Linked DNA regions of Homo sapiens: region 1 is linked to region 2. The links are contacts of gene promoters, found by promoter capture Hi-C in blood cells and fetal thymus (Javierre and others, 2016). All regions are on one chromosome and are shown on one strand. Each heading gives the region's core, a stretch centred on a gene start or on the middle of the fragment in contact. The rest is flanking DNA. Distances are from core to core; before and after follow the strand shown.

Evidence for each region. Contacts are between HindIII fragments. The CHiCAGO score rates a contact against its expected background, and 5 or more counts as called.
Region 1: a fragment that was not itself captured here is called in contact with the fragment with the promoter of C18orf63 in region 2 in 1 of 17 cell types (total CD8 T cells); the score reaches 5.1 in total CD8 T cells.

Annotation. Positions count from the first base shown.
Region 1 is chr18:74,587,458-74,590,608 of GRCh38, forward strand. No RefSeq gene overlaps it. Among named protein-coding and RNA genes, the nearest start is that of ZNF407-AS1, 8.8 kb to the right of the region's middle. The HindIII fragment of the contact is 1,934 bases long and covers 659-2,592 here.
Region 2 is chr18:74,313,835-74,317,199 of GRCh38, forward strand. It overlaps C18orf63 (chromosome 18 open reading frame 63), which reads left to right and starts at 2,005. Exons shown (of 14, transcript NM_001174123.2): 1 at 2,005-2,275. RefSeq lists an enhancer at 2,213-2,382. The HindIII fragment of the contact is 4,843 bases long and covers 1-3,365 here.

The sequences.
Region 1 (3,151 bases), core at 376-2,875, 270 kb after region 2:
AACTCTACTCACCTAGTATGAAAACTTCCATCCATTCCTCGAGACTGTTACCCCTCTGGTGCTCCCTACCTTGGTAAGTGGACCATCGGCTAGTTGATAGCAGAGCCCTGCATCGTCTTCCACACTTCCCTCTCTTTCCAATGCAATTCAATATCAGGGCCAGTCCAGCCCGTTTCTCAAAAGCCACCACTTCCTTCTAGTTCCACTGTCACCTCGCATAGCTCATAAGCCAACACTCTTCAGTTTTGCTGGGTTATTGCAGAGGCCCCTAACCAGCCACTGCTTACACGACAGCCCCTCTCACTGTACATGCCATGCGGCAACTGGCTTGTCCCTCTCACCCTGCTTAAAGCTCTCAACTGGCGACATGGTCTGAGGATGAAGTCAGACATCCCAAGAAGGTCTACAAGTCCTGCTCAACCTGCTCTCTGCTTACTCTTCTGGCTTGCTCTGCCCTCACTAGATACACCCTGACAACCCCATCCTTCAAATCCTCCCAGTTTCGCAAACATCCAAGAGCTTCCCTGCCTCAGAGCCTTCTCAGAGTCTCTCCCTCCTCCAGCAACACCCTTACAACCCCCTTGGTGTCACTAATACCCCTCCCACCCACCCTCCACATTATTCTTCAAATCTCAGCTTAGTCGTAATTTTTCAGGGAAGCTTTTTCTTATTCCTCATGAGTAAGTGAGGTGTCCCTATTATGCTACCATAGTCTCCATAGTTCCTTTGTCGCATTTATTATCATTGCCATTAAATACTTAGTCAAGTACCACATACTGACAATTTGGCCAACAACAAACATATATGACAGTGGTCCCATAAGATTACAATACCATATTATTACTGTACCTTTTTCTATGTTTACCTACATAGATACTTACTACTGTGTTGCAACTGCCTACAGTATTCAGTACAGTAACACACTGCACAGGTTTATAGCCTAGGAACAATAGGCCACACCATGCTGCCTAGGCGTGTAGTAGGCTATGCCATCTAGGCTTGTGTGGGTACACTCTAGGGTGGCTGAAGATGTCCAGACACGCATTTCTCAGTATCCCTGTTAAGTGATGCATGATTGTATTTCTACAATTTGAAAACTGCCAGCTCTCCTGCTAGACTGTAACATCTTTACAGGCAGAGATTGTCTGTTTTGTCTATCCTGATGTCTTGAAGGTTCCAGGCATACTGTATGTCATTAGGAAACATTTAAGTGCTGAAATGAATGATTTCAACATTTGTATCATCCATTCTCATGCTGCAATGCACACTCATGATTTCTGTGCATCTCTCTCCCTCCTATTAAACTTCACGCTGTATAATATTAGCGACCATATCCTACTAATCTCTGTACTTCAGGCATCCAGTGGGGTGTTGCTACACACATTAGATAATCAGTATGATTGCTAAAATCTTCCTCTTGACTTTGCAGCAGCGATTTTGGGGGTCTTCCCTACCAGGTGTGCTATACCCTTCCTGGACTTCTCTCATCTTTATACTCTCCACTTCACCTTGTTCCTAGTTTGAAACCTTCTTGGGAGCAGCTAGTACTGGGGAGAAGCACAGAAAACAAGCCATGCAGAGGTGTCAATGGCTAATAACTGTTCGATGTGTTAGGCTTCCCAGCAGTGCTTGTATCTTACCAGGGGCCACACCTTCATTCAGAGGCCACAAACTGGAAGCCCGGGAGCCCTGCACTGGCTCCCTCACCCCCGCTGATGTGGCTTTCACGGTGTCCTAAGCACTTTTGAATGGGAAGCTGACATTGCAAAACTGGAAGATTTCACTTTCACACACACACACACGATTCCTCTTGAGCAATCAGAAGACAGAGTGAGATGACACTGCTCTGCCATTCCTGCAGGTGATGAGAAGCTAAGCTGAGGAGAGCACGAAGCCCAGCATCTGACCATTTAGACATGCTCAACAAAGTTCTTAGAAGAAGCAGAGGAAGGAGAAAGCTCACAAAAGAAAACAAATGCTATTTTATCTGACTTCTCACTTCTACGGATAGTTGTTTTCACTTAAAAACAAATCCCCAAACTGTTTCATGATAGGGCCAAGTGACTTTTAAACACAATCTAGTTTAGTAGATAGTATACTATACTATTTTAAGGGCCAGGCGTGGTGGATCCTGCCTGTAATCCTAGCACTTCGGGAGGCAGAGGCAGGAGGATCCCAGGAGTTTTGAGACCAGCCTGGGCAACATGGGGAGATCCTGTCTCTTAAAAAAAAAAAAAGTGTACTATACTATTTTAAATGTCTACTTTTAAATGAATTCAGTGTTATCTGTTATTTTTAATGTTATTTTTCAGATCAAGTTTGAATATTAATTGTACATGTAATGGCTAAAAAATTAAATCATGATTTGAGATCTTGATTATACAAAACACTTGTTTCTATCTTAATGTACGATGGTTAGACCTAGCATAACTATGTTAACGATCTGTAATACTACTGCCTTTCATAACGAAGAAAAACTTAAACCAAGTCCTAACATTAGCACATATTCCTTCTGCTCTTCCACTGACCAACTATGTAACATCTACATTCTGTATTGCAGAGCACTTATCTTCCTCTTTACCATGTTGAGAAAGCTTTCTTCTTTAGGAAGTAAGTTCTTGTAAGGCAGAGGTTGGGTTGGATATGTTCTATACTTTGCTCAGCTCCCCAAAGCCCTAATCAATTGATAAAATACAAAGACAAGAATGCAGGAGATTTTCTGAAGCAACAAAATGATGCATTCTTTTTAATTCCTAGCATGATGTAGAAGAGAAGTGATGGCAGGTGTAATAATTTCTTTTCTTTTTCTTTCTTTCTTTCTTTTTTTTTTTTTGAGATGGAATTTCACTCTTGTTGCCCAGGCTGGAGTGCAATGGCGTGATCTCGGTTCACTTCAGCCTCCGCCTCCCAGGTTCAAGCAATTCTCCTGGCTCAGCCTCCCAAGTAGCTGGGATTACAGGCGCCTGCCACCACACCCAGCTAATTTTTTTGTATTTTTAGTAGAGATGGGGTTTTACCATGTTGGCCAGGCTGGTTTCGAACTCCTGACCTCAAGTGGAGGTCACCCATCTCAGCCTCCCAAAGTGCTGGAATTACAGGCTTGAGCTACCATGCCTGGCAAGTATAATTTCTTAACAGTTATGATAAGTAA
Region 2 (3,365 bases), core at 755-3,254:
GAGGGGTTTCTTTCCCCATGTGTACATACCAAGTAGGACAAAGAGATTTTCTGTAATATCGAAAGGTTTGTTTTAATAATTGCAAGGACTGTGACATAAAACCTTCAGACCGCAGGTGTTAAATTTGAGACATTACATTTGTTAGACTATTTCAGAAGATTGTGTTTTGTTCAATTAATGTAAAGTGTCTTTGTCTTAGGAGGCTGATTTGTCTCAACAACGTTGTGATAATCACTTACTATAATCTCACATCTGGGGTCATAAGTAACCAAACAATTGTAAACATTGAACACATTCTTATTGCTAGGAAGATATGTAAAAATGTTCCTCTTTGCCAAAAATTATTTTGCAAATAAAATAGGTAAATGACTTTAACTGATTAGACATTAAACACAATATAAAATCTCATTCTTTCACAATACCACTTCTGGGAGCTGGCAAGATGTGGGATTGAAAAGTAGCAAATCTCTGACTTAATGAAAATTTCCTGACATTCCACCCATGAAGTTCCTTGTCATCTCCCTGACCTCATATTGGGGTGTCCCAGGATCCAGTGTGAGGGTTCCTTTTCTTCCTAAATGCACTCTCATGGAGATCCAATCTGGCCTCAGGTTTTAAATAGCATCTATTATATGCAGATCTTTCCCCAGAACTCTTATTGTTCCTCTTCATTTCTCAATGTCAACAAGTCCAAAACTGACATGAACCCTCCTGATCTTCAGCCCCAAACTTGCTCCTCTTAGTCTTCCCCTTTGTAATTAATGGCAACCCAATCCTTCTGAATTCTTAGTATAAAAACCTTGGAGTGATGCTTGATTCCTCTCCCTCTCTCTCAGATCCCACATCAATCCATATCCAAATCCTATTAAATCTAATTTCAAAATATATCCAGAATCCAATCCCATCCCATCCCATTCCCTCCACTGCCACTGCTCTGATCCAAGCCACCTCTCTCCTTATTGCCATTGCCTCCTAACTGCTTTTCTTCCTTTCCCTGTCCCCTTCAGTCCATTCCAGCACAGCAGGCTGGATGCACCTTTAATACTTCCATGGCTTATCGGGCCTAACCCTGTCTGGCTCTCTGTAACTCCTCCTGCCTCACGGAGCCACTTCTTTCCTGCTCTACTGCAGCCAGCTGGCGTCCCTCCTGCCCTGGCCTTTTGTAGGATTCCCTCTCTCGTAACAAACATTCTCCCCCGAGACATGCACGAGGCTGCCCACTCTCACCGCCTTCATGTCTTTCTCAAACGTCCCGTTCTCCACGAGGCCTTCCTGACCACGCTATTAAACCTAACGACTTCTCCTCGGCACTCCCCGCCTCCCTACCCTACTTAATTTTTCTCCAATGCACCTATCACCATCTGCCACACTAAGATTTTGCACATTTATCTTGCGTATCTGTTTTCCCCCAACTACCAAGTAAAATGTGCATCCCACAAGGACCGGGAATGCTGTTTGCTTAGTGCTCTATCAGCAGACCTTAGAAACGCATCTGCACACAGTAGGCGCTTCGTGGATTTACTCCCACGAGCTTGCACCACGCTTCCCCTCCACACCAGGCATGAAGATGTTCCAGTCATGGAGATTCCCACCACTAAAGGAACTGCAGAAGCTGTAAATTCGGGCATGAGAATCTGAGGAGAAACGTGCCGAGGCAAGAGGCTGGGTAGCCCCTGTGCAGCACGCAGTTAGCCGGGGCTTCAGCGCCGGAGCTCCCCGTTGGACGTGTTGCGCTGACCCAGCTTTCCCGCCTTCGAGGGCGGCCAGAACCTTGTGTCCCGGCCCCACCCACACCAGCTCAGGCTGAGAGAATCTCACAGGGCTTCACTGGGTCATCCGTGACCAGCTTTGGTCGGTTCCTGCCTTGGCGGGAAAAGTTGACCTACATTGCGTGCCAGGAGCGCAAGGCTTGCAGGGCATGCTGGGAGAGCGCAGGGAACGCTGGGAGAGCGCGGGAAATACTGGGATTGGCTCCCGAGGGCTGTGAGGAGGGCACGAGGGGACACTCCGATGAAGGCAGGGCACGCGGGGCGAGCCGGGAGCGTCTCCTGAGGGCAGCGAGGAGGGAGCTGAGGCACGCGGGCTCTCAATCGACGCCCCACAGAGACCAAGAGGCCTGGCCTTGGGGGGCAGCTGCTTGAAGGAGGCAGAGCGGAAGCGAGGGAGACTGCTGGAGGCCCTGCCGCCCACCCGCCCTTTCCTCCCCCTGAGGAGACGCCTGACGCATCTGCAGTGCAGGAGGCCGTGGGCGTTAGAAGTGTTGCTTTTCCAGTTTGTAAGACCATTTTCCTGATTCTCTTCCCCACGGTTGCGGAGGAGCAGGTCAGGGCCGCCATGAGGGCAGGATCCCGGTGCCGGCGCCGGCACCCTGAGGACGTTGGTTTGGGTCAGGAAAAAAATGTATTCATCTGCAAAGACCCATGAGTCCCAATTTTTCGGGCATTTCATTATATCGGAAATTTATAGAATCACCTTTTAAAATGGATTTAGCTGAACAAAGACCTTAGATTCGTTTCCACTCACGTCCATTACTGTTCTCACAGAAGCCAGGCCGGAAGAGGGGTGGGCGCTCGCCTGGGGGCAGCGGCAAGCCGGGTCTGGGGCCGCCCTGAACCCCGCGCCCCGGGAGGATTTTTAGGAAGGGTCCCTCGTAGCGGCGGTCCCGAGGCTTAGCGCACAGCACTGCAGGAGCTGGGCGCTCCCAGAGTTTTGGTCCTTTGGGGTTCTCTGAGTCCTCCCTCACGTGTAGAATTGCGTAGGTGCCTGTTGCCTGCTCCTAGCACTTGTTCCTTGCCCTGCTGGGGATTGGGAATAAAGATGAAATCCTGGGACAGAAACGTAGTGGAGCGACTCCCTGGACAGGATGTTAATAGCGCATCCGTAGATCATAATAAGGCTTGGCCCACGTTTTGAGCTTCACAATATAGTTCTACAGCCTAGCCAAAGAAAACAACATTCTTTTTGAATCTGCAAGTTTTGCCAACTAGGAACTCACAAAATTAAACAATAGTAATAATTCTAATAAATTCATGCTTATCCCTGAACAGATCACTCTTGTTTACATACAGTGTTGCAATCCGTGAGTATTTGAAGATTGGCAAAACGGGAGGACTTGCACCCAGGAATTTTTTGGTGACCTGGAATTTACATTCCTACTGTATTACATTCCTGCTGGCATTGCCAGCATTCCTCAGATGACACCACAAACTCATTTCAGTACTGTGATCAGAAGGCTGGTCACACTGCACATTCCCGGGCCAGTATATTATTCTTTCTTAAAAAGAAAAAGCATGTTGATGTTGAAAAGTTGAAAGTACTAGAGTCCAGCTTACTTTTCCCTAATGTATTTGTGCATGTTAGTGTAC